6 separate regions of the Homo sapiens genome follow, and all the other regions are linked to region 1. The links are contacts of gene promoters, found by promoter capture Hi-C in blood cells and fetal thymus (Javierre and others, 2016). All regions are on one chromosome and are shown on one strand. The core of a region is centred on a gene start or on the middle of the fragment in contact, and the rest is flanking DNA. Distances in the headings are between cores, read along the strand shown. Region 1 holds the start of LEF1-AS1 (LEF1 antisense RNA 1). Region 2 has its middle 160 kb from the start of LEF1. Region 3 has its middle 210 kb from the start of LEF1. Region 4 overlaps HADH (hydroxyacyl-CoA dehydrogenase). Region 5 has its middle 220 kb from the start of RPL34-DT. Region 6 overlaps HADH (hydroxyacyl-CoA dehydrogenase).

Region 1 (3,028 bases), core at 478-2,977:
CGCGGGCAAAGCGTGCCTTTCGGTGGGTTATAAGCAGCGCCCGGTCCTTCCTTCTCTCGCCAAGTTGCCTGATCCTTCCCTCCAGGCGCGCGCGCACACACCACACTCACACACCCCAAAACCAAGACTCGTCCTACAGGATCTGGGAAAAGAAAAAGAAAAAAAAGCCCTCAATCACCACCTCCTTCTCGCCGACTCCCCCTCACCCCCCGCCTCCCCTCCAGCGGGCAGCCAAGGAGAGCTAGAGGCGGGGGAGGGGAGAGGGAGGAGAAGCGACGCAAGTGGGTAGCTTTTCAGCGCCGGCGAGGCGCGGGAGGAGGAGAAGCAGTGGGGAGGCGCAGCCGCTCACCTGCGGGGCAGGGCGCGGAGGAGGGACCCGGGCTGCGCGCTCTCGGGCCGAGGAACCAGGACGCGCCCGGAGCCTCGCACGCGGCCAAGCTCGGGGCGTCCCCTCCCCTCGGCCGGGCGAACTCAAGGGGCGCAGCTCTTTGCTTTGACAGAGCTGGCCGGCGGAGGCGTGCAGAGCGGCGAGCCGGCGAGCCAGGCTGAGAAACTCGAGCCGGGAACAAAGAGGGGTCGGACTGAGTGTGTGTGTCGGCTCGAGCTCCGGGCAGAGGCATTTGGGCCCGAGGCCCCCGCTGTGACTCCCCGAGACTCCGCAGTGCCCTCCACTGCGGAGTCCCCGCGCTTGCCGGCAAAAACTTTATTCTTGGCAAACTTCTCTTTCTCTTCCCCTCCTCCTCGGCCCCCATCTTCTGCTCCTCCTCCTTCTCTAGCAGATTAAATGAGCCTCGAGAAGAAAAACCGAAGCGAAAGGGAAGAAAATAAGAAGATCTAAAACGGACATCTCCAGCGTGGGTGGCTCCTTTTTCTTTTTCTTTTTTTCCCACCCTTCAGGAAGTGGACGTTTCGTTATCTTCTGATCCTTGCACCTTCTTTTGGGGCAAACGGGGCCCTTCTGCCCAGATCCCCTCTCTTTTCTCGGAAAACAAACTACTAAGTCGGCATCCGGGGTAACTACAGTGGAGAGGGTTTCCGCGGAGACGCGCCGCCGGACCCTCCTCTGCACTTTGGGGAGGCGTGCTCCCTCCAGAACCGGCGTTCTCCGCGCGCAAATCCCGGCGACGCGGGGTCGCGGGGTGGCCGCCGGGGCAGCCTCGTCTAGCGCGCGCCGCGCAGACGCCCCCGGAGTCGCCAGCTACCGCAGCCCTCGCCGCCCAGTGCCCTTCGGCCTCGGGGGCGGGCGCCTGCGTCGGTCTCCGCGAAGCGGGAAAGCGCGGCGGCCGCCGGGATTCGGGCGCCGCGGCAGCTGCTCCGGCTGCCGGCCGGCGGCCCCGCGCTCGCCCGCCCCGCTTCCGCCCGCTGTCCTGCTGCACGAACCCTTCCAACTCTCCTTTCCTCCCCCACCCTTGAGTTACCCCTCTGTCTTTCCTGCTGTTGCGCGGGTGCTCCCACAGCGGAGCGGAGATTACAGAGCCGCCGGGATGCCCCAACTCTCCGGAGGAGGTGGCGGCGGCGGGGGGGACCCGGAACTCTGCGCCACGGACGAGATGATCCCCTTCAAGGACGAGGGCGATCCTCAGAAGGAAAAGATCTTCGCCGAGATCAGTCATCCCGAAGAGGAAGGCGATTTAGCTGACATCAAGTCTTCCTTGGTGAACGAGTCTGAAATCATCCCGGCCAGCAACGGACACGAGGTGAGCGGGCCGCTGCCCCAGTTCCGAGAGGCGTGGCGGGTCCCTGGGAAACTCAGAGAGGGAGGAAGGGAACGAAGGCGCCCGGCCGCCCGGCTGAGGGTCCCGAGTAGATCCCTCGTTTGTTTTGGGGTGTGTGCGTAGCTGGGCCCCCGGTCCGCAGTGTGTGTGTGTGTGTGTGTGTGTGTGTGTGTGTGTGTGTGTGTAGGATGGGAGGTAGAGGGGCAGGGTAACTTATTCCAAATGGATCAGTTTAGGGGGTTCGGTGGCTGAACGGTTGGTTCGCGGGCAGGAACCCACAATGTTTCGCCTTCGGTCTTTTTGTTGGGCTGAGGGGTGCCGTGCTTTAAAGCGAGTAGGGCTGAATAACGCTACTGATAAATTCTTCCGTGGGACGGAAAACAAAGTGCACACGCTATCTCTTGGTAGATGTCTCTGCAAAAGTGCGTTAAACCACCAAAGGCTTAGGTGGAGACGAGCAGAGCCACAGGCGGGAGGAAGGGGAGGCGGGCGTGGGCTGGGGCAGGCGGGGCCGTCCCTACCACCGGTGAGCCGGGCCGCGGGGAGCAGGCCGGCCGATGGGGCGCGCACCCGGGCTGCGGGGGCGGTGCGGGGTTCAGTCCCTGCGGCCCCAGCGCCTGGGCTAGCAGCTGGGAGCTGTGGGTGCGCCGAGCCGACCCACCGCAAGGGTACACCCTGGCTGTACCGCCCCCAACTCTAGTTTTCTCCAACCGCCATCACTTGGAAACAAACCCACAACTTTTATTTGGGGTTTGGGACCGGATCAGGCCTTAAATCTACGCAGAAGAAAGGCGGAGAAGCAGCGGAAGCCGGGCACTAGTCCTGCAGGGTGGAAGGCGCTTTATCGGGTCTTCTGGCCCGCTGCGGGCGATAGAGCTGGTAACCTGAGTAGAGTAAATAGAGACACGTGGGTGCTGGCTAGAGAAAGCGCGGAGCAGGGCCGCGCTGGAGGGCTGTTTGAAGCCTAGTCCAGAGCTGGTCTAGGGGGCGGATGGACCCTGATACCCGACACTCCACTGGTCACCCTTGTTCCACAACTGGGAAACCCTCTGGAGGAAATCCGGTAGAAAAGTCCTGACACCCGAATGATTTAACCAACGCCTTTTCCCTCCAAAGAAACTTGGAGGATATACCTTTTTTTCCTTAAATGGCATCTTTCTACCCCCAAAAAGAAAGTGTGTGGTTTTGAGGGCGGGGACATTTTGGGTTTTAAACAGCGCGTTTAAGAACACCTCAGATCTGCCTTCTCTATCCCAATGGCAGAGGTGAGTACGAATTTTGAAAGGCTGGGGGCCTGCGTTCAGAGAACAGAA
Region 2 (2,887 bases), core at 313-2,812, 160 kb before region 1:
ACCTCAGTGTCCACATTTCTTTTCCAAGCCTCCACCCTATGTGCTTGGGCTCACCTTGTTATTTACTGAGCTACAAGCTTCTGTTGTGAGTTGAGGGATGATAAGAAAGGGCAAACGAGGAAGGAAGGGGAAGGAGGAGGAGTGGGAAGAGCAGGAAGGAGGAGGGCACTACAAAAATAGTAATAACAAATATGGATCCTGTGAAGACTGGACCCCTTTGAAGATAGTTTTGTTATGAAGTCAAGAGACCATAAGATGGGAGGGAACCTGGTTATCAATTCATTGGAATAAACCCATGGGGCATATTTATTTGCAGTAATTAAAACCATTAGAAGTGAGAACTTTTATGCAAAGTTTAGAAAATACATCAGAAGAAAAGATGTCAGAACTGTGTGGCTATTTTATTTAACAGATCAGTGCAAACAACATTTTTATCATCTTCATGAATAAAACAGTAGGTTTAAAAATTATAGACTAGTTTAGATTGGCAAGGAGGTAAATATGAAATAGGGCTTTATCAAAAAAGAACACAGGATTACCTAAGCAGCAATTCTTTTTATTTGTTAGTCAAGAAAGGTTATCATTGATAAGGAATGCAGCTACAGGACATCCTGTAGCTAGGTTTCAAAAAATCATCTGATACAATGAGTAGTCAAGTAATTCAGCTATGAAAGATTTTTCCTCCATCTTTTATTTTAGATTCAGGGGTACACGTCCAGGTTTGTTACAAGAGTATATTGTGTGATGATGAGGTTTAGGGTCCAGTTGAACCCATCACCCAGGTACTGAGCATAGTACCCAACAGGTAGTTTTTCAGCCCTTGTCCCCCTCCCTCCCTCCCTCCTCCCTCCCTCCTCCCTCCCTCTAGTAGTCTCCAGCATCTATTGTTCCCATCTTTCTGACCACGTGTATCCAATGTTTAGCTCTCATTTACAAATGAAAACATACGGCGTTTGGTTTTCTGTTTCACATTAGTTCACTTAGGATATTGGCCTCCAGCTGCATCCATGTTGCTGCAAAGGACATGATTTCATTCTTTTTATGGCTGCAGAGTATTCCATGTTGTATGTGTACCACATTTTCTTTATCTAATCCTCTGTTGATGGCCACCTAGGTTGATTCCATGTCTTTGTTACTATGAATAGTGTTGTGATGAACATATAGCTGTATGTGTCTTTTTGGTAGAGTGATTTCTTTTCCTTTGGGTATATACTCAGTCATGAGATTGCTGAGTCAAATGATAGTTCTGTTTTTAGTTCCTTGAGAAATCTCCAAACGGCTTTCCACAGTGGCTGAACTACTTTATATTCCACAACTATGAAGGATTTGACGTAATGCAGAGGCAAACATTGCCCCCCCTAACTAGAATCTGCACTCCCAACATATTCACAGCCCACTCCTCCTGGCTTATTTCTTTTCATGCTTTGAAACTCAACTCTGATGTCAACAGTTCTGGAATGCTTTCCTTCACACCTCTTCCTTCCACCTCAATTTCTACTAATTGCCCCTTCTCAATTCACCTTGCATTGGCCCTTTCATAGACACGTTACCAAAGTGGAATTTGTTTATTCATCTTCTTCCCCAATAGACTGTGAGCTCTTCAAGAGCAGGAACTGTGCCTTTAATTTCTGTCTCCCAAAGACTCGATCCAGTCCCTTGAAGATAGCAGGCTCTCAATAACATTCACTCAATGAATGAATAAATGAATGCTGTTTCTCTCTGTAAAAGAGAATTACATGTAATCTCTACAAAGATGAAAAGAATTTGTATGCATAAGAGAATAGTGTCACTGAGCCAAATGTGAAGGACAAGTATGAAAAGGGAAAAGAAATCTGAGTGTCCAAAGGCACAAAGGAAAGTCATCAGAGACTGGAGGAGACAGAAGAGGTGGTAAGCAGGAACTTAAATAAACCACAGGAAATGAAGAAGATAGAGTTCAAGGGCACTATAGGCAAAGAAAGGTATTTCCAGAAGCTAAGGATAAATAAGAAAGTACAAGAAGAAGACAAGAGGAACAAAGTATCCTCTGAGAAGTGAAGACACGGTAGCGGGTTTCACTTAACCTCATCTGAGGTTTCTACAGAGGAAAGATGAATGATGAAGAAATTAGGGAAACTAACAAATTAATGCCTATACCAAGAAGGTATCGAGAGGGCAGAAATGCCAAAAAGAAGAGTGGCATAATAACAGTCAACATTTGTTGGGCATTTTCTCAGGCCACTGTGCTAACTTGTGTGTGTTAACACATTTACTCTTCATAGGTAGGTGCTATTTTATAGATGTGGATACAATGACTCAGAGTAGTAAAATATGTTTAAATTCACAAACTTAGTAAGTTGTGGAGATAAGACTCCAGTTCAAATCTTTCAGTACCTGAAGCTCAAGACCTGAGACAAATAGGCACTGAGGGGAGGGGAAGAAGGAATGACTTACGGAGGAAGCCTGAGTGTACCAAGTACATCCATCAAATATAGGTAATGCATGACTCCCAGTAGAATCCCACGATACAGATAGCATGAGAATGTCAGAATTTGGCTTTCAGCGCTCTAAGGAAGTAACTTAAGGGAAAAAGGAGAAGAACAAATGTTTTCCTCTATGTGGTTAGGGTCAGAGAATTTCTTTGTAGGAAGAGACACAAACATGTTGAGACCTAAAGAAAATAGTACAAGCTAGTAGCAACCACCTGCCTCTCTGCGCGGGGCCCTAGTTTCATAAGAAAGTGAGCAGGTGCTCTACATGATAAAATAGCGGGAGTAATTGAAGTTTCTAGGGGGGAGAAAATGCAATAAGGAGAAGAAGAAGGAAGTAGGCAAGAATGTGGCTCTATAAAGAGAGGCTGGAGGAAAAACATTCCCCCAGCCAAGAGAGCATCCCTGGGAGATGATAC
Region 3 (2,868 bases), core at 245-2,744, 210 kb before region 1:
AATTTAATTGTCATTATGGCAGTATGATAAGTTGGGACTCTTACGAGATGATTAGATCAGGAGGGTTCTGCCCTCATGAATGAATTAATGCCATCGTCATGGGAGTGGGCTCCTCCTAAAAGGATGATTTTGGCCCCTGTTCTCTCTCTGTCTCACACACTCACTTGCTTTTCTGCTTTCTGCCATGGGGTGATCCTCACCAGATGCTGGTGCCATGCTCTTGAACTACCCAGCCTCCAGAACTGTGAGCCAAATAAACTTTTGTTCTTTATAATTTACTCAGCCGGTCGCATTTTGTTATAGCAGCAAAAAATAGACTAACAGATAGACCTTAAACAGTTAGCAAATTTATTTAAACTTAAACAAAAGTGTGTAAAAGATAACTTTTTAATTTTTAAATTTCTTCTGAGAAATATGCAAAACTGACAAGGCTTCATATAGAAAGATTTCCTTCCAAGTTATCTTAGCTCCTTTCACTGACCTTTGGGCAAGCTGACTCCTGAATAACCTAAAGTCCTTTAAGTTGACAATCTTTGGTTTCCTGACCCAGACTGATCCCCTCAGATGCTGTTACTGATGGCAAATGTGGCTACTTCAGGGTTTTAAGACTCTTTGGCCAGTTGACACTCCAGGGTGCTTTGATAAGCTCCTCACCCTGTAACAAGAGACTGACAAGAAGGCAACACCTGAACATGTTCAGGGCTTGAGTCCACAAAGGAGAGCAAGTCTGGGAGCTATGTGCATCTAGTTAAGAACAGGAATAAGCACAAAACAATATTAACTTTAGAAATGAGATGAAAGCCCATGTGTGCTGGCTTTCACACGGAAGGGGAGACCCAATGAACCTCCACCCCCTTCAGCACTGCTTTTAGATGGAAATGATTTTGTTGAATACTGACACAAAAGGAAGATACAAATGAAGTGAAGAGCCTTAGCGAACAATTACATGCAAGTAGGTTACATGAAAATATAGTCTCAAGTGTATGATATCTTGTGAATATTAATTAAGGAAATTATTCTCAGAGCAGCTAGTGTTTAAAACAAGATCTAATCTCTGCTGAGTGGCCCCACCATTCTTCCTCTCAATGTTTAACTTCAAAGGGCTTTGGAGTTGGGGCAAATGAGATTATTATTACTTCAATCTAGGGAAAACGTATTCTAGCCAATTTGATGATAAATTCTAGAATTACACATAGCAGTTAATACAAAGAAGAAAAAAATATTCTATACCCATGAATGTCTGTCTGCTTAAAAGAAAAGGTTTTTAAACCTTATCTAATCTACTCTGTTCCCCTACAAAAATTGCACAATTCAAATATAGAGCTGGAGAAGGATATGGCCCAGTCGAAGATATAATTTTTTTTAAAAAAGCTGTTCTCCTCTATCAATTTGGGACCATTGGAAATAATAATATCACTAATAATAATAGCTAATGCTCATATACATCTGTGTGTCAGGTGCTAAGTGTTTTGCTTATATTAACTCATTTAGTCTATGAGGTACTGCATGGTAAACAAACATGGAGAGGTAAAGTGACCACAATGGTTCAGATATGGAGCTGGGATTTGAATCCTATCACCAGACTCAGAAGTTTAACCACCATGCTATGCTGCCCCATAGTTACAGCTCATGTAGAAAAAAGGCAATATTTCTCTCTGTCAATCAGGATAGTTGTCTGATGACCTGTACAACTCAGACTAGGAGGATAAAGGCAAGTCTTTAAAAAACAAAAGACAGGCACCATATTAGGTAGTGCCAGCAAAACTGAATTATATTCACAGATTACTAAGGACGCCCATATGGATTTGGCAGATGTGTAAGTTTGAGGAAAGATAACCAATTACCTAATGTTAAAAATTTAGCTGTTGGTGAAATCAGTGCTGCTGCCATTCAACGTATTCAACTGTAAACAGATGCTGAGTAGGGATAGGTATTGAAGCACCCAGATGCTGAACGGATACAGTTACAATGGGATGAGAGGTGCAGACAGTGAATCAAGACAGAGCGGCTGCAGATGTGTGCCGGCCATGGATAAAGGAGAGCATATCCATGCGGGGGTCCCCAGCAGACTTTTAGACTGCCATGGTGCCTGGATCCTCAGCTGTCACACTCCACAGAGAGTGTCGGAGGTAAATGGAAGTGTATTCTGCCATTCTTGGATCAACCTGAGACCCAGAAAAGTCAGGCACCACCAGTTAAAACGAAGATCTGGAGAATGCAAGGTGCCTGGAGGTGGGGGCTTTTCAGAGCCAGCCTCCCCACCTGCCACTTGCCCTGCACAGCAGCCCCACAAGGTCACTCCTGGTTTTCGCATGTGCTGTGCAGTGTTCCCCTGCATGCCTTTGGCAATGCTGTTTCCTCTCTCCCTGATGCCTTCCCCGCAACCACCTCTCTAGGAGATAAAACGCTTCTTGTGATTCCAGACCTCCAATCTCAGAAACTGAGATTGCCCTTTCCTTTACTGTGGATGTATAGCCTTTAGTTCCATTCCAGCACTTATTATTACATCTGCTTCTGCTTCTGTCTCTCTCCTTTGCTTAACGAAGGATTTGAAAACACGATCCATGTCTTTTGCATTTTTATATCTGCTGGCTCCCAAAACAGTGCCAGGCACATCGTAGGTACTCAGCAAATAATTGTAGAGTGAATGTTTATTGCAGGGAAATCTGAAGGCCCAGAGATATGTTTTCTTTGGTCTACAAATGGCTTAAAAATAATAAATATGTTGCAAATATTTACAGTTTCAGAGATTTCACAGAAAAAAAAGGTTGTTGTCTTCTCTAGAAAGAAAAAAAAAATCTGGCCACACTGGGCTTGAATCACACCTAACATCAGTTAGAATTGAGTAGTGGCTGTCCCCTCTGGACA
Region 4 (2,732 bases), core at 48-2,547, 170 kb after region 1:
AAACCCTGTCTCTACTAAAAATACAAAAATTAGCCAGGCATGGTGGTGCACGCCTGCAATGCCAGCTCCTCAGGAGGCTGAGGCAGAAGAATTGCTTGAACCTGGGAGGTGGACACTGCAGTGAGCCAAGATCACGCCTCTGCACTCTAGCCTGGGTGATAGAGAGAGACTCTGTCTCAAAACAAAACAAAACAATCATTTCCAGTTAGTAAGCCTACTCCCCAAGATCCTCTCAGCCCTAAGCTAGATGTCCCCCATATGCCCTGTAACATCCCTGCATCTGTGTACCACAGCACCTACCAAACTGTGTTATAGTAATCTGAACTCCTCTACTGTAGGCTCCTGACCAAATGTCATTCATCTTTGTACACTGAGAACCTAGACCCTGCCTGGCTGTGGCTGGCCCTCAGGGAATGTTGACTGAATAAAGACATTTGTTGGTAAAGTCAAGATGAGACCTGGTGGCTCTTTCCACTGCTGTAGCTGATGGCCTCTCCTGATAACGTAACCTCTTATTTAGAAAATAACTACAGAGAAACAAGTACAATTCATTCTCCTGAGTAATTCAGTAACACCCAAGTTACCGCCAACTTTCTGGGATGGAGAAGGCAGTGGAGAAATGAACTGCAAAAAAAGAAAGGCCTTCTTCTTCTCCTTTCATAGACATCTGTTATTTTTACAACAAATGAGGAGGACTCTTCCTGGCAGTTTGAGTGACCACAATTTAAATCAATCCATTGAGAACTCATGTTTTATATTACAGTGACCTACATGCTGGTAAGACCTTGAGGACAAGCAGTCTGCAATGGAAAAAAAAATATTTGAAGGCTATGTCCTCAGCTCCATGACTTTTCTAGGCCTGGTGGAAGGCAGGCTCAGCCAGAGAGGAAATATTTTTAGACACGGCTGCTTCAGAGTTGTAAAAATAGGCTAAGTGACTAGCACATTTGTCAAAGCCCCAGAGCACTCTGACCACAGGACCAAGTAAACATGCCAAGCAGAAGCACACTGGATTTATTTATCTTTGTAAATGTATCAAGAAGATTTGAAGCAGCTTTCTCCGAAGCACAACTTGAGTGGTGAGTCTATGAGACCTACATCAACTGGTCTGGTGACTGGTCTCCCTCCCATCTCCTCCCTCAACAGTTCCACTGGATGTCCCATGTGCCTAGACATTACAAGGAGGGCCACCGTTTTCATCCTCTCTCTGGAAAATCCCAAAGTTATGCAAACTATCTACCACACATGATTTCTGACTTTCTTCAGATCCCCAGAATAAGTAGACTGAGTCAGAGCTCCCTGAGGCCAACTGTGCTTCAGAGGCTGCAGCGCCTTAACAGCAAGGCCTGCCTTTTACGGTTGTCATGGTTTGATCCAGAGAGGAAAAAAGTCATACATCAGTTGCATCTCTCAGGGCTGGCATTTCTGGGTTTATGATTGTCTCTGGTTGTGTAATGTCTTGAACTCTGCCATCAGCACAAGTTGTCTTCCCTGACTTCAACAATTAGCAAAAGCTGTTCTGTTGAGGATGTCAACCACCACCACCACAACCAGCTGGTTTGTTCTTTTTTTTTTTTTTTTTGAGAAGGAGTCTTGCTCTGTTGGCCAGGCTGCAGTGTAGTGGTGTGATCTTGGCTCACTGCATCCTCCGCCTCCTGGGTTCAAGCAATTCTTCCACCTCAGTCTCCTGAATAGCTGGGACTGCAGGCATGTGTCACCATGCTCAGCTAATTTTTGTATTTTTAGTAGAGACAGGGTTTAACTTTGTTGGCCAGGCTAGTCTCGAACTCCTGACTTCAAGTGATCTGCTCGCCTCAGCCTCCCAAAGTGATGGGATTACAGGCGTAAGCCACCATGCCTGGACTGGTTTTTTTCTTCAAACAGTTAAATTAATTGGACAGACTCCTTTATTAGACTTCGAATTTTACATTTCAAAAAGTATTTCTAAAAGGCAAAGAAAGTGTGCGCCCATTTTTAGACTAGAATTGTGTTACATAGTTTTTTTTTAATTCAGTAAGTGTGTAGGTTTCATAATAACCCAGATAACCTCTCCCAGACTTCTCACCTCCCACAAATTCTGAAAAGGTAAAGGGATAACCAGACATGTCAACAGCATCGTTATATTTAAGAATCCCTGGAAGATGTTGCTATGATGGACACTTTCCGGGTAGAGGAGAGTTATAAATCCAAATGCCTCTCCAGGAAGACTAATATGACAATGTTTGCCATGATGAGTGGGTTTTTTCTTTTAGTTTTTGCTGAAAGGACCAATTAAGAGGCTCCCATGACAATTCAGGTTAACACACCTGGTCTAGGAACTGCAAAGGAGAGGGCAGAGGAAAGAGCTCTCCCATGACCAAAAAGTTACAGAGCCTTTTCTGGTATGGAGACACTGATTGTGATCCCATCTTCAGAGTACATGTGGCTGGAAGAACAACTGCAGCAACAGGAGGGGCAAGCTCTCTGGAAAAAGCTGGAGGGGAAATAATGAATTAGATCTTGGCAGGTGAGTTTGAGTCTACCATGGGCAGAAGGATGGCAGCACAGCACCCTGATGTAGACGACCAGCAGGTAGACTAACTTTGAGTCCAGAGCCAAGGAGACGTCAACCTGGGATGTACTGATTCCAGAGAGCCACAGAGGATCCCCTGCCATGGATGCCACACTTCTCCCCACAATACAGCACTTGCCAGAGGTGCAGGCAGAACTGAATTCAGGCTTGGGGATTTACA
Region 5 (3,030 bases), core at 495-2,994, 230 kb before region 1:
TTGAGACAGAGTAGTGCTCTGCGAGGGACTGTTGAAACACCAAGTATGGCCAAAGAGACAAAATTTTCATTTTATGGATTCAGGATTCAAACCAAGGTCTCAACAGGTTCAGGACTGAAACAGATTTTGAAGGCATGTTGACATGGAGCAGCAACATGTAGAGGGATCAGAAGGTGAAAATTCTCTGCAAATAGGAAACTGGCTATACAGTTTCAAGACAGGTAATTTTTATAACATCATTGCTAAAAAGGGGAAGGAGTACGTGCTAATAAAATGGAAGTCCAAGAAAGCCTTAGAAAGGTCACAGATAACCAAATAACGTGAAGTCTACTTTTGCCTACTCAGAAAAAAAAATAAAAAAAATAGAAATGAGGAAAAATTAGTTCCTCATTCCTGGGACTCTGTCTACCAAAAATTACCAAGTATTTCTAATCTCCCCACAAGACATACACAAATAATTTCAGAACTAAATGTGTGTCTGTGTGTGTGTGTGTGTGTGCATATACAGTTATAGGCTAAGTTAATGGTGAATATTTACATAATTTGAGGATATAAGAAGTTTTCTAAGCATGACACCAATGCAAAAATTATAAAGAATATATAGATACAATTATACAAAATTTAAACATTTTTTTCTTAAATCAAAATAAAATGCTATAAAATTTCAAAAGAAAATGCTATAAAAGTTAAAAGAAAAAATTGTACAAATATTCGGAAAACATGTCTCATGAGAGGTTAATGTCTTCATTTTTAACATCTCTAATGAACTAATGATGATGATTATGATGACAATAAAATCAACTTTCCATTTTAAAAAACAGGTTTGGTGAATTAACACGGGAACAGAAAACCAAATGCTGCATGTTCTCAATTATAAATGGGAGCTAAGCATTGGGTACAAATGGACGTAAAGATGGGAAAAATAGAAACTAGTGACTGCAAGAAGTGGGAGAGAGGGAGAGGGACAAGGGCTGAAAAACTACCCATTGGGTACTATGCTCACTACCTGTGACAGATCATTTGCATCCCAAACCTCAGCATCATGCAATATACCCATGTAACAAACCTGTATATGTACCCCCTGCATTGAAAGTAAAAGTTGAAATTATAAAAAATAAAATAAAAATGAAAATAAAAAACATAGGCTTGGAATACGAACAAGAAATTCCAGTTTTAAGAAATACATAGCCAGTATGCATATGGCAATCTGTACCACCCTTATTTATAATTGTATCAACCCACACTAAAATTTATTTTATTAATGTGGCAAAATTTTATAATAAATGTATTTAAAAGGTTATAAAACCTTATGTTCAGTATTATTCATTTTTTAAAAAAAACACATACATCTAAGTTCTGAAAGAACAGTGTCACTGAAACATAAACAGTGGTTATCTCTAGGCAGAAGGATTATGAATACTTTTTTCTTATTTAGTTTTAAAAATCATGAACATGAATTACTTTTGTAATAAAGAAACCAATTGGCCATTATACCTGTAACCAGGGCCTAACTTCCTATTACACAACGGTTTCTATTTAGAAATCACATTTGACTTACAGTATTTGGATTTTCAAACTCCATGTCAAGAACACAATCTGCCATAAACGGGAAAGCTTTGTGCGCTCCATTTGAATACATAATTTGAGTTGGCTTGTTCCCTACCTGGTGTTCCTGCCCTTCAGGGTAATTCGCATAGTTACCTCCTGGCTTCCTAGATGTAATTACTCTACTAGGAAAAGAAGTATCTAGATTATTATATAAACAAACAGCATAATCATAAATGGTTTCTTCTGGAATTTGGGTTGTTGCCGATTTTTCTTTCATAGCAAAATTAGATTTAAGTAAATTTTGCCTATGCTACATTAGAAGCTTAACACTTTCAAATAAATCAACCACAGGGGCCAGATATAAACTCTAACTTAACCGATTTCTTCCCCCAGTACAGACCCTTCTTTCTTTAATAATCTCGCCCTAGCATCCCCACATATTCAGCCCCACTAACAAACACAATCTGCCACACACACTGTTTTTTAACCAGATGAGGACAAAGAATGAGAAAACATTCCCACAGTCAGCCATAGGACAACACCAGAATGCAAATAAAAGGTAGTTTGACAAAATTTCACTTTTTGCCTCTAAACATTCCAAAAAGTTAGATTATACTCATTGGAGAAGAGGGATGATCTAATACTTTAAGATACTGAAATCCTGAGAATGTTTTTGTTTCTGTGGCCTTTTATGGAAGGAAACTTTGCAGAGGCACTTCATCTTTGTGAAAGTCAAGGTGGCAGATGGGTTTTATATGCCCAACCTGTTATGGCTCTCCTACCACAAAAGTAAGGACAAAAATTATCCATAAGAAGGCATCATTAGCATCTATGCTGTGTACCGTGAGCACATGGTTGAAGTGGAAATGGTTGGCTCTGCTCCTGCTGAACCATATACATGATAGACTATTTTGTATCTTGGAGCCACTGATCACTGCCACTTGTCACCCCCCGAATCTCCTGACTACCATTGCCCCATAAATAGGAAGAAGCCTTTCTTTTATTTTAATTTTAATTTTTTTAAATTTATTTTTATTTATTTATTTTTTATGAAATGGAGTCCCACTCTGTCTCCCAGGCTGGAGTGCAGTGGGGCGATCTTGGCTCACTGCAAGCTCCCAGGTTCACGCCATTCTCCTGCCTCAGCCTCCCGAGTAGCTGGGACTACAGGCGCCCACCACCACACCCGGCTAATTTTTTGTTGTATTTTTAGTAGAGATGGGGTTTCACCGTGTTAGCCAGGATGGTCTCGATCTCCTGACCTCGTGATCTGCCCTCCTAGGCCTCCAAAAGTGCTGGGATTACAGGAAGAAGGCTTTCTTAGGTGAAAATGGCTTCTGTTGTTCTCCACCTCTCGATATTCCGTGAGACCATGTGTGTGTGCACTGACTCACGCATGTGTGGCTGTGAAGGTCTCATTTGGAACCCAAAATGAAATGTTTGCTTGAATCTGGCAGAATCTGGCCGGTAACGATGGAAGAT
Region 6 (2,876 bases), core at 153-2,652, 150 kb after region 1:
AATCAGGGGCGGGTGGGAGGAGAGGAGGAAGAGAAGGGAGAAGAAACCAGTTATTTGGAAAGGAGGGAAAAGAGGTAAAAGGCGAGACCAGTGTGGGTAGGCAGCGGAGAGCCTTCTCTTTCCAGGTATGAGCACATCCACCTTCTCCAACAGCTTCCAAGGTAGGCCATTTAAATGCCAGGGTTTCCTTTTTAAAAAAAAAATGACATTGTTTTAAGGTCTTAAAATTTCAGTTTTCAAAGTTTCTTGCTTTTGGTCATTGGGGAAAATAATATAAACTATTCCCCATTACAGAAGGTAATGAAAAAAAGATCCTCTTCCAATAACAATGTGTGTGGCCAACACAAGCACTGTTCAACCACACAACCTGCACCACAAGCACCTGGAACCACAAAAACAGAGCAGGGACAGCCTGGGCCCAAGGCTGTGCCAGCTGTGGCTCCACACTCCCGTTAAGAAAAGAAAGTGTTATTTTAAAGATTAGTATTACAATCGTAATACCCCTTTTTGTAGAATGTTTGAAGGGCCATTCACCTGCAAAAAGGGGAAACTTGGGCACATTTGGTAAAATAAAGTGACATCAGAGCCCAGTTCCAGGTATCACCAGTCCAGGGCACTCTGGCACATTTTATCAGAAGGAGGAAATGATCTCTCCCCAGCAGACCTCTGCTTCTGCCTCTCCCAACAGGGTCAGGCTGACTTTGTTCCTAAAAGTCTCACACTGTCTTCAGAGAATACTAAACACATAGGACAGTCTTTTCATCCACAAACAAAATGTACTCTGGGCTGGGCACGGTGGCTCACACTTGTAATACCAGCACTTTAGGAGGCCGAGGCAGGTGGATCACTTGAAGTCAGGAGTTCGAGACGAGCCTGGCCAACATGCCCCGTCTCTACTAAAAATACAAAAATTAGCTGGGCATGGTAGCGCATGCCTGTAATCCCAGCCACTAGGGAGGCTGAGGCAGGAGAATTGCTTGAACCTGGGGGGCAGAGGTTTCAGTGAGCTTAAGATCATGCCACTGCACTCCAGCCTGGGCGACAGAGCGAGACTCCGTCTCAAAAAAAAAAAAAAAGTACTCTTACATGTTCCTGGAAACACTTGTCTTGAACCATCTTTTGTTTTTTTCATTCGGACACTCAGGTACCAAAAAAACTACTTTTCTCTTAAATGTTCTAAAAGAAAATCGACAACACAAGCACAGTGATTATTAGCAATGGCCCCAGACCCTAGTATAAAGAAGACAAGAGGGTTGGTGGGGATGGCAAAGGATTCAAGAGTCTGTACTTTGTCTAAAGGGGAAAGTCAGGACTTCGATCTGGCTGCCTGTGCGTCTGGTCATACTTTTCATTTGTGTGTCTTAGGCTGCTGCTAGAGAAGTCATGTTCTCTCCAGGATGCAACTGTTTCATCAGGGCTTCCAACCCGAAATGTATCACTTGACTATATTTTCTTCTCCCATTATAGGATCGAACTGTAAAATTTGTCAGTAAAGTACCTCTCAATACGGCTGCTTAAAAATTGTAGCAAGCATTCAATAATGGTGGTGATCTAAAACAAAAACAAACAGTGCCAAGAAAGGTGGAGAAGGTCAGCAGCAAAGTCACATCTTTGGTATGACTATGGGTCATGCCTTCTTTTCACACCTCATATCTGTTTTGCATCAATTCAGGTTAAAGAGCCTAGTGTAGTGCCTGATACACAGCAGGCACTCAGGAAATGTGAGCTAAATGAAATGAGTTTCCTAAACAACTCTGTACAATAGGTACCAGTGCTGCTGCTCCTATTTTACAAATGGGGGAAGCTAGTCTTAGAGAGTTAGAGCCAGAAAGGTCTAGGAAATTATTTACCCCAATCACCTCAACTTGCATTACAGATGACGAAACTGAGGACCTTTCCAAGGCTGGAGGTGGTGAGGGGGTCAGCACCAGGCCCAGGCCTCCTGACTTTCTCCAGTGATCCTTCTTCTGTACCAGACATGGACAATGGAGGGCAGTCAGGCCTTTCACTGTCACCAAGAGCGACCAATCTTTTCAATAAAGATCAAACTGCTTGACAAAACTCCCTTTTTTGGGGTGGCTGTTTATTATCCCAGAGGGCTCCCTGCTGGCCTGGGAGCCAGTCCCGGTACCACAAGTATATTCTGTTTTTGTCAGATGTCTCTGTAGCCTCTAGATGCCAGTGTGAAATGCACGAGGACACTGATTGGCAGTGATGGACAGATGACAGAAAGGCAAGTCTCTTCTCTTTGTCAGGGGCAGGGCCTCTCTGGCCACAAGGCCACCCATCTCTGAAGGTTAACATTCCGACAAGCTGGTATGCAAGTGACTCTCTTTAGCCACTGCCCACCGGAAGTGCCCTGAGAATTGCTTTTGTCATATAATCTTATTCTGCCATTCAATTCCAACCAAGAAGCATGAAAATATAGTCAAACAAGTCACTAGAAGAGCACTGATCAGTGGGTCAGGTGTCACACACTCGAAGGCTCTGGATCCCAAGGTACATTCTGCCAGGAAGAATTCCACCAGGAAGCCAGCCAGCTAAGAAGTCAATGCTCCTTTAACACTCCCAAGAGTACTTCGATTGAACCCAGATGAAGCTCAAAACAGGAAAGTCCTCTCTGTCTATAGGCATTCCCTTCAATTACACCATTCTGTTTGCTCCATCCAAAAAAGGAGGAAACACAGAACTGCTCTGAGGGTCCTTGGCAGACAGTTAAGGACACGTAGGGTACTCCTATGCCCGAGAGTGGAGCACAGAAGTACCCTACATGTCCTTAACTGTCTGCTGTCAGATGTCTCTGCAGCCTCTAGATGCCAGTGTGAAATGAACCAAGGAACGTCAGAGCAGCTTCTGGCATAGGAGTATCCATGACC

Evidence for each region. The method cuts DNA at HindIII sites, captures the fragments that hold promoters and counts their contacts. A CHiCAGO score of 5 or more calls a contact.
Region 2: a fragment that was not itself captured here is called in contact with the fragment with the promoter of LEF1-AS1 in region 1 in 5 of 17 cell types (non-activated CD4 T cells, activated CD4 T cells, total CD4 T cells and 2 more); the score reaches 8.4 in non-activated CD4 T cells.
Region 3: a fragment that was not itself captured here is called in contact with the fragment with the promoter of LEF1-AS1 in region 1 in 1 of 17 cell types (non-activated CD4 T cells); the score reaches 5.9 in non-activated CD4 T cells.
Region 4: a contact is called between a fragment that was not itself captured here and the fragment with the promoter of LEF1-AS1 in region 1, in 1 of 17 cell types (naive CD4 T cells). The highest score is 6.2, in naive CD4 T cells.
Region 5: a contact is called between a fragment that was not itself captured here and the fragment with the promoter of LEF1-AS1 in region 1, in 5 of 17 cell types (fetal thymus, non-activated CD4 T cells, total CD4 T cells and 2 more). The highest score is 8.7, in fetal thymus.
Region 6: a fragment that was not itself captured here is called in contact with the fragment with the promoter of LEF1-AS1 in region 1 in 7 of 17 cell types (fetal thymus, naive CD4 T cells, non-activated CD4 T cells and 4 more); the score reaches 13.0 in fetal thymus.

Annotation. Positions count from the first base shown.
Region 1 is chr4:108,166,224-108,169,251 of GRCh38, reverse strand. It overlaps LEF1-AS1 (LEF1 antisense RNA 1), which reads right to left and starts at 1,727. Exons shown (of 3, transcript NR_029374.1): 1 at 1,419-1,727. It overlaps LEF1 (lymphoid enhancer binding factor 1), which reads left to right and starts at 320. Exons shown (of 12, transcript NM_016269.5): 1 at 320-1,697. The coding sequence starts at 1,485. It overlaps LOC124900752, which reads right to left and starts at 1,313. Exons shown (of 2, transcript XM_047416528.1): 1 at 350-1,313; 2 at 1-142. The coding sequence starts at 752. RefSeq lists silencers at 321-370, 2,127-2,366 and enhancers at 631-720, 1,748-2,249. The HindIII fragment of the contact is 8,163 bases long and covers 1-3,028 here.
Region 2 is chr4:108,327,630-108,330,516 of GRCh38, reverse strand. No RefSeq gene overlaps it. Among named protein-coding and RNA genes, the nearest start is that of LEF1, 160 kb to the right of the region's middle. The HindIII fragment of the contact is 2,965 bases long and covers 80-2,887 here.
Region 3 is chr4:108,377,737-108,380,604 of GRCh38, reverse strand. No RefSeq gene overlaps it. Among named protein-coding and RNA genes, the nearest start is that of LEF1, 210 kb to the right of the region's middle. The HindIII fragment of the contact is 5,062 bases long and covers 1-2,868 here.
Region 4 is chr4:107,995,744-107,998,475 of GRCh38, reverse strand. The region is part of intron 1 of HADH (hydroxyacyl-CoA dehydrogenase); the gene reads right to left. Among named protein-coding and RNA genes, the nearest start is that of HADH, 7.2 kb to the right of the region's middle. The HindIII fragment of the contact is 5,569 bases long and covers 1-2,732 here.
Region 5 is chr4:108,400,522-108,403,551 of GRCh38, reverse strand. It overlaps the pseudogene ZACNP1. Among named protein-coding and RNA genes, the nearest start is that of RPL34-DT, 220 kb to the left of the region's middle. The HindIII fragment of the contact is 256 bases long and covers 1,617-1,872 here.
Region 6 is chr4:108,015,757-108,018,632 of GRCh38, reverse strand. The region is part of intron 3 of HADH (hydroxyacyl-CoA dehydrogenase); the gene reads right to left. Among named protein-coding and RNA genes, the nearest start is that of HADH, 27 kb to the right of the region's middle. The HindIII fragment of the contact is 3,162 bases long and covers 1-2,876 here.